2 separate regions of the Homo sapiens genome follow, and region 2 is linked to region 1. The links are contacts of gene promoters, found by promoter capture Hi-C in human tissues and cell types (Jung and others, 2019). All regions are on one chromosome and are shown on one strand. Each heading gives the region's core, a stretch centred on a gene start or on the middle of the fragment in contact. The rest is flanking DNA. Distances are from core to core; before and after follow the strand shown.

Region 1 (6,066 bases), core at 1,947-4,446:
GACTACAGGCGCGTGCCACCATGCCCAGCTAATTTTTATATTTTTAGTAGAGACAGGGTTTCGCCATGTTGGCCAGGATGGCCTCGAACTCCTGACCTTAGGTGATCCACCCGCCTCAGTGTCCCACAGTGCTGGGATTACAGACATGAGCCACCGCATCCAGCTTGTCTCCAGTTTAAAAAAAAAAAAAAAGTAATAAAAATTTTTAAAATAATAAAAGCAACTAATATTTGAACCCAGTGCTCAACTGTTTACATGACTTAATCTGTACAACAACTGTATGAGGGAGTTTTATCTGCACTTAAAATGTGAGCAAACTGAGGCACAAGAGAGGCTAAATAACTCAAGATCATTGGTTAGCAAGTGACAGGAGCAAAATGCAAACTTCAGTGGTCTGGCTCCAGAGCCAGTGGGCTCTGAATTCAGGCAGACGTGCTTTGAATCCAGGCTATGTTACAAATGTGGCTTTGAATAAGTCATCTATCCCCTCTGCATTTATTTCTTTGTAAAATGGGTATGATAACCTCTTTTTCTTAGGGTGTAGAGAGGACTAAGTTAAATACAATAATGTATGCAGAAGTCTTTAAAATTGGTTCTCCCACCTGGCAGGTACTCCATAAATGTTAATTCATTTTTGCCTTCCCTTCCTAAAAGCTGGATGAAGCAGACTCACAGAGGCAAAGGATCTCCCCCAGACTGCTTGAGGCTTTTCCAAACAGATCAGGTAGTTAAGCCACTCAACCCAGAAAGCCTTGCCTTACCTGCTTATCTCAAAAGTCCATTCCCTGCACAGGGGCTAGACACCTTTTAAAATGTAAATATCATGTCATTCCCTTAAACCCTTCAAAGGTTCCTAATTACACTGGAGATACAAACCAAACTAAGGAGGGAGGCATTCTGCCCCCAAGGCCCCATTGCTCTAATTTGGCCCTAGTCTCCAGACTAATCTCCCCTCTCCCTTTCCCCCTCCAGCCCCACAGGCCTCTTTCACTTCCTCCTTGCTACAGTCAGCTCCACACATGGTTAACTCTTAACCCTCCTTCAGATCTTGGCCTAAACATCACTTCCCCAGGGAAGGCTTCCCTGAGCCCCCAACTCAAATCGGTCTCTTACCCCTCTCTTCAGCTTTCTCTTCTTATATTCACTATAGTTTGAATTATTAGTTTACCACTTCCAAGTTTTACTCGAAAGACACCTTCTTAGGAAGCCTTCCCAGGCCACCGTATAATATAAATTCAACTACCACCCCTGATACCTCAGATTCTCCTTCCCTGCTTCCTTCTTCTCCTTAGCATTTCACACTTTTTAACAGACTATATTTTTGTTATATATTTTATTTATTGTCTTCTCCCCCACTCCCAGGAAAGCACCACAAGGGCAATCATTTTTGCTTTCTTTGTTCACTGCATCTAGAACAATGCCTAACACGTATTTGTTGACAAATATTTGTTGTTGAATAAATTTCCACGACTATTTATTTATTTTGAGATGGAGTCTCACTCTGTAGCCCAAGCTAGAGTGCAACGGCACGATCTCAGGTCACTGCAACCTCCGCCTCCCGGGTTCAAGCAATTATCGTGCCTCAGCCTCCCAAGTAGCTGGGATTACAGGCATGCACCACCACACCCGGCTAATTTTGTATTTTTTTAGTGGAGACGGGGTTTCACCATGTTGGTCAGGCTGGTCTCGAACTCCTGATCTCAGGCGATCCACCCGCCTCGGCCTCCCAAAGTGCTGGGATTACAGGCGCGAGCCACCGCGCCCGGCCACGACTATTAATTATTAGACTTTCCCAATGGCTAAGAACTAAAACATGGTATCTTTCTGGCTTACCAATGTACTCCCAACACCTAGCTCAGTGCCTGGCACAGAGTAAGTGCTCAGTAAAAATTTATTTAATGAATCAAAGCCACAACTAGTTGAAAAATTGGAAAATGATCAAAATGGACGCACTAGCACCACACTTCTGCCCCTTTCACTGTGTAACGTAACAGTGAGGTTGAGGAAACAGACTACTAAAATACCACCAAGCATCCACCAGGCCAGGAATCTGTCTGTCCACATCCTCCGCACTCTGCCACACTGTGCACCACACTGCACCCGCGACAGAAGCACCCTACAGGCCCTCCATGAGCACAGGCCTGAACTCAAGTGGGCAAACCATAAGCCAAATACCGTCTTACTCCCCAAGTCCCATTCTTCTACTGCCAGTCCTATTCTAGACTAGTCCTGGATGCCAAACATGCTTCCCTGGGTGGGCCTGTGGACTTATTCCAATCCAGGACCTTTAATGCCACCTTTGGCCTACTCAAAAAATGGTTTAAAATCCCTAAACAGCTTCAATAATCCTGCAGTACTCAGGAGCAGGCATACCTAAGGTCATACGGACCCCTCCCCCTCACAAACGCTGATCCAAGGCCAGGAGGCCATCTGTCCAGCAGACGCTCTCCTGTCCTCCCTCAGGTCACACTGAGCCTCCCGCCAACCCCCTCGTTGGCAGGAAGAGCCCTTGCAGAGAGACAATTTTCACCCTGATCAACAGGCCTGGTCACCCCTGAGGACCCCAACTCTGGAGCTCTAGGAATACCTGTCTGCTCCGGGAGAAACCTTCCTCAGGGTCAGAACTTGGGCTCAGGGGAGGGGAGTACTGAGGAGCGCCAAAGAGGGTCGTTCCCCGAAGTGTCTGCCCTGTGACGGCGACAGCTCTTCGGGCGGCGGGGACGGTCGGGCTGACAGGCCGTCCCAGAGGGAGAAAGTGGCACCGTTATCCGTGCCCGGGCTGGGGGCCGCCGGCTATCGCCGAGGGCGGCCGCACGTCCCGCCCAGCGCGGAGGACAGCAGCGTGCCCGGCCTGCCAAGGAGCGGCGGTCGCAGCGGCGGTCGCAGCGGCGGAAGGGGCCGGCGCCCGACGGCCGGGGGCGGGGTGGGGTGGCGGCCCGGGCCCGCCAGGCGGCGGTCGGGGGAAGTGGCTGCCGCCTCTGGCGGCGGCCAGGGTCCGCCAGGCTGCAGGGCCGGGCCCCGGCTCGGGCTCGGACTCGGTCCCGGCTGCGATCCTCCCGGGCCCAGGCTGGGGCTGCCCCGGCCCGCAGGCCCCGCTCGGCCCGGCCCGCGGGGGGCGCTTACCTGGCGGCGGCGGCGGCGACTGCAGGCCAGAGTCTCGGCCGCGCGCGTCCCCAGCGCCGGCTGCGGGAGCCACAACATGGCGACGGCGATGGCGGGCGGGGCTGCGGCTCCGGGGGCGGAGCGGGGGCGGGAGCCGGCCTGGCGGCGGGACCTGGCTGGGGCTGCCGCGGCGGGGGATTGGGGGGGGGGGGGGGCAGGCGGAAGGCGACTCGGACCTGGGCACCGGCCCAGGACGGTGCGGTGGAGGGGCTGCCCCGGCCTGGGCCCGGCCTCCCGCCTCCCGCCTCCCGCCCGAGGCGGGCTGCGCGGCGCAGGCCCGGCGACGGCGACGACGGCGGCGGCGGGTAGGGCGGGGCGGGACGCGACGGGACGGGGCGGGGCGGGGACGGCGCCGCTCAGGGCTGGACCCCCGACCCCGGCCGGCCCCCGCCCGGCTCCAGTCCCCGCCACCCGTGCTAGGCACCCTGTGCGGTCGGGCAGGCAGCCGCTGCCAGCGACCTGGGCCTCTTGTCCTCTGACGCGCCTCGGGGCAGGGGCAGGGGCCGAGGCCGCCCACTAGAGGAACAGGATCTGCCTACGCAGCTGTCTCGCCCGGCAAAGAGCGCCCAGGACCCGGGACTGCGTCCTCTTCACTGAGACCTGGCGCATAGGGGGCCTAGTCGAGGCTGTTAAGTGAAAGCAAGCAGGGGTGGCGTGGGCCTGGCGCTCAGGTGCGCCCTAAATGTTTGGTCATAGCTGGCTACAAGGACATTCGCGCAGGCTTGGAGGTGCGGGGCAGCCTGACGTGTTGCCTCTGGGGTAACCGAGGGACGCGCGGCAAACAGAGATGGAGGACTGGCAACGGGTGCCTCGAAGAGGTAGACTGGGAGATCTCTCAGGGTTACTGGGGAAACGATGACTGTGCAGGGTGAGAACTCAGTGAGTCTGGCAGAAGGCTGGGAGGGTGACCGGCAGGACCTTCCAAGAACCCGGCGTACCTGGAAACTGGGTCCGCAGCATTAGGGCGGCAGCAAGGTCAGGGTGTGGGAACACGGAGATGAGGCCCTGGTGACTAGGAGTGAGCACACACTGCTAACCATGGAGAAATTCCTTCTCCAGGAAGGAGATGCAAATGTGCAAGATGGCTGGAACTAACATGCAGCCGGAGCCTGCTGTGCACCAGGCACAGAACTGAGTTGAAGAGCTTGTCTAAAGAGTATGTTAGCCAATGAAGCAATGGAGTTAATAAAGGGTGATGATTTCAAATGTTTGGCAGTGAGAGAGAGAAAAGTAGGCCTGGAGCTCAAGAAGTACCAAGAGTAAAGGAGAAAGTTGGGTCCTACTGTGGAAGCTGAGGCAAAAGCATCCCTTAAGCCGAGAAGTTTGAGTTCAGCCTGGGCAACATAGCGAGACCCTCCCTCTCTGCAAAAGAGTAAAGGGAAAAGTTGATTGTTTTTTGTTTTTTTTTTTTGTCTTTGGAGACGGAGTTTCGGTCTCGCAGCCCAGGCTGTAGTGCAATTGCGTGGTCTCGGCTCACTGCAACCTCTACCTCCAGAGTTCCAGTGATAATCCAGCCTCAGCCTTCAAAGTAGCTGGAATTACAGGCGCACGCCACCATGCCTGGCTTTTTTTTTTTTTTTTTTTTTTTTTTTTTTTGAGAGAGAGTTTCGCTCTTGTTGCCCAGGCTGCAGTGCAATGGCACAATCTCGGCTCACTGCAACCTCTGCCTCCTGGGTTCAACCGATTCTCCTGCCTCAGCCTCCCGAGTAGCTGGGATTACAGGCATGCGCCACCATGCCTGACTAATTTTGTATTTTTAGTGGAAATGGGGTTTCAACATGTTGGTCAGGCTGGTCTCAAACTCCTGAACTCAGGTCATCCACCCGCCTCGGCCTCCGAAAGTGCTGGGATTACATGCATGAGCCACCGCACCCGGCCCTAATTTTTGTATTTTTAGTAGAGATGGGGGTTCGCCATGTTGGCCAGGCTGGTCTCGAACTCCTGACCTAAGGTGATCCACCTGCCTTAGCCTCCCAAAGTGTTGGAATTACAGGCATGAGCCACCATGCCTGGCCGGTGATTTTTTTTTTTTTTTTCCTAACTTGAGTGGGGAGACCTTAACTAAAGGAGCTGAGAGGGGAGAATGGCAGATAGATGTAGGATAATTGATGGTGCAAGAAACCAGAAAAGGAAAAGTAGATGGGAAGGGGGAAAGGGGTGAGCAAAAAGTCAGAGAAGTCCGCCTCTTCCTACAAGATTTAAAGAGTGCATAAAGATTGAAATATTTTGAGGTAGGGAGGCATGCATGCTTCCATGGATCAGCTGCCTGGATTACCCTCTACAATCATCCTTAGGGCAGCTGGGGTCACTGTCCTTTAAAATTTAAGTACAATTGACTCCAAACCTGTGTACCACTTAAGAAACCCAGCATACCTGCCAATATCTCCAGAGTTTCATTGGGAACTTACATTTCTCCTAATTATCTCAGGCCCTAATTTCTTGTTTGCAAAAAATATTGTGCTCTTTGGAAGATTTGTCACCATATCCCAGATATTAGTCCATTTATATTACCTCAAAATATTGCACCCTACCTATAAGCAGGAAAAATGCCCAATATTATATTATTATATTATAGTTATATGATTGTTAAATAAACTAGAGTTTGTGGCCATTAAAAATCATGGTAAATAAAAAGATTTAATGATGTGGGAAATCTTTATAATTAAAAGCACATTATAAGGTGATATAGCAGATGGTAATATATAAATATACATAAATAAGTATAATGCGTAGATTTTAAAATGAGACTTTTCTTCTGTGACATCTATATTTTCTTATTTTTATAGTGCATGTATATTTCTCCTGGAAGCAGGGAAATGGTATCTTTAAGTAGCTTTTAAAAGTATTTTTAAGAAAGGTGTTTTTTAAAAGATATTTATGGGGTTCGAAAGAAAAAAATATTAG
Region 2 (5,906 bases), core at 1,122-3,621, 270 kb before region 1:
AAATGGTACTTACACCCCAAAGTAAAAATGATCCAAGAGCATTAAAAATGGCAAAGGTGGATGTATCAATTCCAAAAAATACATTTAAAATATTCTTACTAGTAATCAAATAAGTACATATTCATATAACAACTTGCTATTTGTCATCCAAATTAGCAAAGATTTTTTTGAAAAAAGAATTCATACTGGTAAAAATGTGGCTCTGCAAGTGTGTAAAATGGAGAACAATTTGTCATTATGTTCCAAAATCCTTACTCTATTTCCAGGAATTATCCTAAAGAAAGCATAAGATATATACACATAATTATAGAAACAAGCATTTCATGGCAATGTTACTTATTCCTAATACTAAAAAAAAGATGATGTGAGGGTTAACCATCTACCCAATAGTAAGAGACTGGTTAAATAGATCATGGTTTGCCCCTAAGATGGATACTAGAGATTGACGTTGCTTAAAGTGTGGCCCGTGGACCAACTGTTAATAATCCACAATGAAATAAAGAGTTTAAGACAGAATGCAGATCAACCACAAAAATTTTTTAACAACAAAAAATCCTCAAGGAAGAAATCAGTAAATGAGTGTGGTGACTTACATCTGGCATAGACTCATCTTGTCCTGAAACAGTAAGAAACAGTTTATCTACATGACTATTTTAATTAGTACCACTACAGACTCTACTTCCAAAATATATCCCAAGTTTGCCTATATCCCTCTACATCTACTGCTACCATGAAATCCAAACTACTTCTCTGAAGAGCTGCAAAAGTCCTGTAGTTAGCCTACTGCCACTTCTGTTGCTCTACAATCTACTTTTCACTTGATAGCCAAAGTGGTTGTTTTGAAACGCTCATCAAACCATACTTATTCTGGATATTATAACTACAGAATTGAGAGTAGAAATAATCACAATATCTACCACCACCATCCTGGGCATATCTCATCCATACTTTGAAAAGAAGCAAAAAACACAAAAACTTTCTCCACATAATTTCCTCCCACTATTGCTTTTTTTTTTTTGAGACGGAGTTTCGCTCCTGTTGCTCAGGCTGGAGTGCAATGGCGCGATCTCGGCTCACTGCAACCTCTGTCTCCCAGGTTCAAATAATTCCCCTGCCTCAGCCTCCCTAGTAGCTGGGATTACAGGTGCCCACCACCACACCCGGCTAATATTTATATTTTTAGTAGAGACAGGGTTTCACCATGTTGGCCAGGCTGGTCTTGAACTCCTGACCTCAAGTAATCCACCCGCCTCAGCCTCCCAAAGTGTTGGGATTACAGGCGTGAGCCACCGTGTCCGGTCTTATTCCTTTAATAAAAGTGTAAAAGTCTGCTAAATATTAATGGGGAAAAACTAGAACTTTCCTGACAAAGTTAGAAACAAGACACACTATTTTGTATAAAACATTATCTTCTTTATTATTTTAACACTGTATTAAAGATACTATCCAATGCAATAAGAGACTGCAATTAGTGGTCTAAAAATTGGAAAAGAGGTAAAACTCTATTTACAAATAATATAATGATATGTCTGGAAAACCCCAAAGAATTTATGTGCTATGTATTACAAATCAGAGAACTTAGCAGGCTATATAAGAAACATATCAAAATCAACAGGCTTCATTTATTTATTTTTTTTTTTTTTGGAGTCTCGCTCTGTCGCCCAGGCCGGACTGCGGACTGCAGTGGCGCAATCTCGGCTCACTGCAAGCTCTGCTTCCCGGGTTCACGCCATTCTCCTGCCTCAGCCTCCCGAGTAGCTGGGACTACAGGCGCCCGCCACCGCGCCCGGCTAATTTTTTGTATTTTTAGTAGAGACGGGGTTTCACCTTGTTAGCCAGGATGGTCTCGATCTCCTGACCTCATGATCCACCCGCCTCGGCCTCCCAAAGTGCTGGGATTACAGGCGTGAGCCACCGCGCCCGGCCCAGGCTTCATTTATTAAAAAAAAAAAAAAGGGAAATTCAGTTAGAAACATAATGGAAGAGAAAATCCTACTTATGAAAGCAAAAAATAATAGAACATCTGGCATAAACTCAATAAGGAACTCTATGAGGAGAGTCATAAAAACACTCCCAAAAAACCACAAGAGATTTAAACAAGTAAAAAGACATACCATGTTCTTGTATAAGAAGATACAACATCACAATGATGTCAGTTCTCCCTATACTAATTTGTAAATATAATACAACCTCAATAAAAAGAAAAAACCTTTGAGTTTTCTTCCCACAGCTAGACAAGCTAATTATAAAGTTCATCTGTAAAAACAAACAAGCAAGAACAGCCAGAAGACCCTGAAAAGGGAAAGAAAAGAGAGAGGAATAGCCTTGCAAGATAATTCTTATACAGCTCTATAATTAAAACAGTGTGGTAGTGGCACATAATTAAAGAGAGACTAATGGAACAGTACAGAGAATCCAGAAATGAACTCAATTATGAATGGAATTTATCTCAAATTAGTGTGGGGGAATGAACAAAATAAGTGGTGCTGGGAATAATTCCATAGCCATATGGAAAAAAAGATTAAACTGAATTTATTCCTCATATCATACACCAAGATAAATTCCAAATGGATTGAAGATTTAAATGTGAAAAATAAAACCATTGAGTACATGGGTAAATATTTTATAACATGGAGTATGGAAAGCTTTCCCATTATGACTCAAACTCCAGAAGATATTAGGGGAAATATTGTTAGAATTAATTACATAAAAATTTAAATTTGCAATGACAAGTCATTTTTTAAATTTTATTTATTTATTTATTTTGAGACCAAGTCTTGCTTGGTCACCCAGGCTGAAGTACAGTGAGTGGCGCGACCTCAGCTCACTGCAACCTCCACTTCCCGGGTTCAAGTGATTGTTATGCCTCAGCCTCCCAAGTAGCTGGGATTACGGATGTGCACCAACACACTCAGCACATTTTTGTATTTTTAATAGAGACGAGGTTTTGCCATGTTGGCCAGGCTGGTCTCCAATTCCTGGCCTCGAGTGATTGCCCACCTCACCCTCCCAAAGTGCTGGGATTACAAGTGTGAGCCGCCACGCCCAGCCGACAAGTCATCTTAAAACAAAAGGAGAAATAAAGAAATGGAAAGAATATTTGCAATATAGAAAGAGATGCCAAAAATGGAAGGAAAATACAAACGACCCTTTGGAGAGAGTCTAGAGTGATATGGACAGATAGTTAACAAAAAAAGGAATGCAGAGTTTAAACATGTGAAAAGATGCTCAATCTCAATCACGATATGAGAAGTAAAATGATAACTAAAAACCATAGTGAGATATCACAAAATATTCTATGGCAAGGCAGTAGAGAAATAATACTTTCTGATACACTGCTGGTAAAAATTCAGAATGGTACAACCCTTATAGAGGGAAATTGAACAACACCTAGCAAAATTCACATTAAAAAACAAAAAAGATGACTCTCAGCACTTTGGGAGGCTGAGGCAGGTGGGTTGCTTGAGCCCAGTAGTTTTGAGACCTGCCTGGGCACCATAGTGAGACTCCATCTTTACAAAAATTAGCCAGGCGTGATGTGGTCCCAGCTACTCAGGAGGCTGAGGCAGGAGGATCACCTGAGCCCGGGAGGTCGAGGCTCCGGTGAGCTGTGATTGCACCACTGCTCTCTAGCCTGGGCAACCCTGTCCAAAAAAAAAAAGACTTATGCACAAGGTCATATAATAATGTAGGGAAACAACTCAAATGTTCAAATGTTCACCAACATGAGCTGGTTAGCTAAGGTATAGACAGATCAAGCCGGTGGAGCACTGTGCTGCTAAAAAAGGAAGGAGGAACTGATTCAAACTATTAATAAAACATGGATGAACCTTGAAAACATTATGCTAACTGAAAGAAACCAGACACAAAGGCCAGAAATTATATGATTTTACTTAAATCAAACGTTCATTGGTAAATTCAGAGAGACAGAAAATAGATTAGTGGTTGCCAGAGGCTGGGGGTGTAGCGGGTAAAGGGGCAGGAGGCAATGGGGAGGGACTGTTATTAGGTACAGGGTTTCTTTGATGAAAACATTCTAGGATTAGTGGTAATGGTTGCACAACTTTGATTATACTAAAAAACCAATGAATTGTCTACTTTATAAGGGCGAGTATATGAATTATATTTCAATTTTTTTAAGAATGAACAATTCCTCCATAGACAACTATGGAGTGATCCCAAGGATATGCTGTGAAGCGAGAAAAGCAAATCAAGAGTACTATGTACAGTATGCCACCATTTCTCTAAAAGGGGTATAAATATATGAACATCAATATAGGTAATAAGAGCAATTGACTGAAACATATCAAATACATTAAAATACTTAACTTCATAGTAATACAAATAACATTTAACAGGTCCCCTTTGGAGGATATTAGGAAGTCAAACCATTATTCTGAAAACTGGTATAATAAATGGAGAACAAGAAACAAGCATTTATCCTGCCTATGCTATTCAAACTTTATCACATAGTTAATGAGAGGAGCTTCTCTTTATAGAGGTATTCAGTATTAAATGAAAAAGTAATGAGAGAATTAGAATATCACCATTTGCCGCCATATCACCACTAATGAATGAAATATGTGATGACTGTGGCCAGGACTAGTGGCCCGCACCTGTACTTCCAACTCCTCGGGAGGCTGAAGCAGGAGAATAGCTTTAGCCCAGGAGTTCGAGGCTGCATTAAGCTATTATCATGCCACTGCACTCCAGCCTGGTAGCCTGGGGGACAGAGCAAGACCCTGACTTTAAAAAAAAAGAAAAAGAAAAAGAAAAAGAAAGGAAGAAAGAAAGATGTGATTATCATCACAAGATCGTGTATCATCTCCACCCTGAATCAAGGCTGGTATATGTAATGCATAAAATACAGTGGAACTGACAATATGTAGTCTAGGCTAGGTCAAACAGGGCATTGTAGCTTCTGCTTTGACTTCCTGGATCACTTCTCTGCGGGAAGCCAGCGGGTACCTGAGCAGCCCTGTGAAGCTGACACACATGGAGAGGAATTGGGCCTTTCCTCAAACCCCAAAACATCCTGCACTAACTTGGCCAATCATATGAGTGAAGCACCTTGGAAGTGAATCCGCTGGCCCACTAAAGGTTTTGGATGACCAAAGACCCAGCCAACACCTGACTGCAACCTCAAGAGAGACTATGAGCCAGAACTATTGAGCCCCGCTTCTCTCAAATTCCTGAACCAAAGAAACAGTGAGAAATAAATGCTTATTACTGTTTTAAGCCAGTAAACTTTGGGGTAATTTGTTATGCAACAAATACAACATAATTCTACTTTTGTACATGTTATAAATTCTCCACAATAAAATATTTCAAAATACTAAGTTGAGTAATTACAGACAATCCTTTAAACACAATTCCTTTATTCTGGCAAACACATATAATAGATTAAATTGAAGGAGAGGAAGAAAGAGCTAATAAAAATTTGTTGCTTTTCTACCTCACTGCCTTAAGAAAAGTATCATTTATCACATTATCTCAGTTAATCTCAAAAACTCTAAAAGATAGAATTCATTATTCCCATTTTGCAGATAAGAAAAGTGATGCTCAGAGAAGATAATAACTTGTTAAAAGTGCACAGTGGTAGAGGCAGGGTATAGGAAGTCTCTGTTCTTTCCACCACATCTCAAAGCCCTTTTAACCTTGTAATTTCTCTATCAAGCCCATCAGGATCAAAGTTGCTAAGGTCCAAATCTGTGAATTTTGTATGTAAATACTACCTTCCATCCCTTACAAAACATCTCTCTGCTTCCCCTGTTCTCACCAACAAATGCAGGGTCATTTAGTGTAGCCCTTAATTCTAAGCAACTAGAAATTGATGAAGAAAGAAAAAAGTGACAAGAGTACAAAGCTCCATTTAATATCCCCAGATTTCTGTTTAACTGTGGATG

What was found. Contacts are between HindIII fragments. The study calls those that stand out against the background at their distance.
Region 2: a fragment that was not itself captured here is called in contact with the fragment with the promoter of ZNF592 in region 1 in 1 of the 25 tissues and cell types used here (spleen).

What each region holds. Positions count from the first base shown.
Region 1 is chr15:84,745,722-84,751,787 of GRCh38, reverse strand. ZNF592 (zinc finger protein 592) reads right to left here and starts at 3,196. Exons shown (of 11, transcript NM_014630.3): 1 at 3,124-3,196. RefSeq lists enhancers at 2,225-2,304, 2,833-3,672, 3,745-4,044 and silencers at 2,705-3,194, 3,255-3,674. The HindIII fragment of the contact is 21,328 bases long and covers 1-6,066 here.
Region 2 is chr15:85,013,000-85,018,905 of GRCh38, reverse strand. The region is part of intron 1 of PDE8A (phosphodiesterase 8A); the gene reads right to left. Among named protein-coding and RNA genes, the nearest start is that of PDE8A, 34 kb to the right of the region's middle. The HindIII fragment of the contact is 5,250 bases long and covers 1-4,996 here.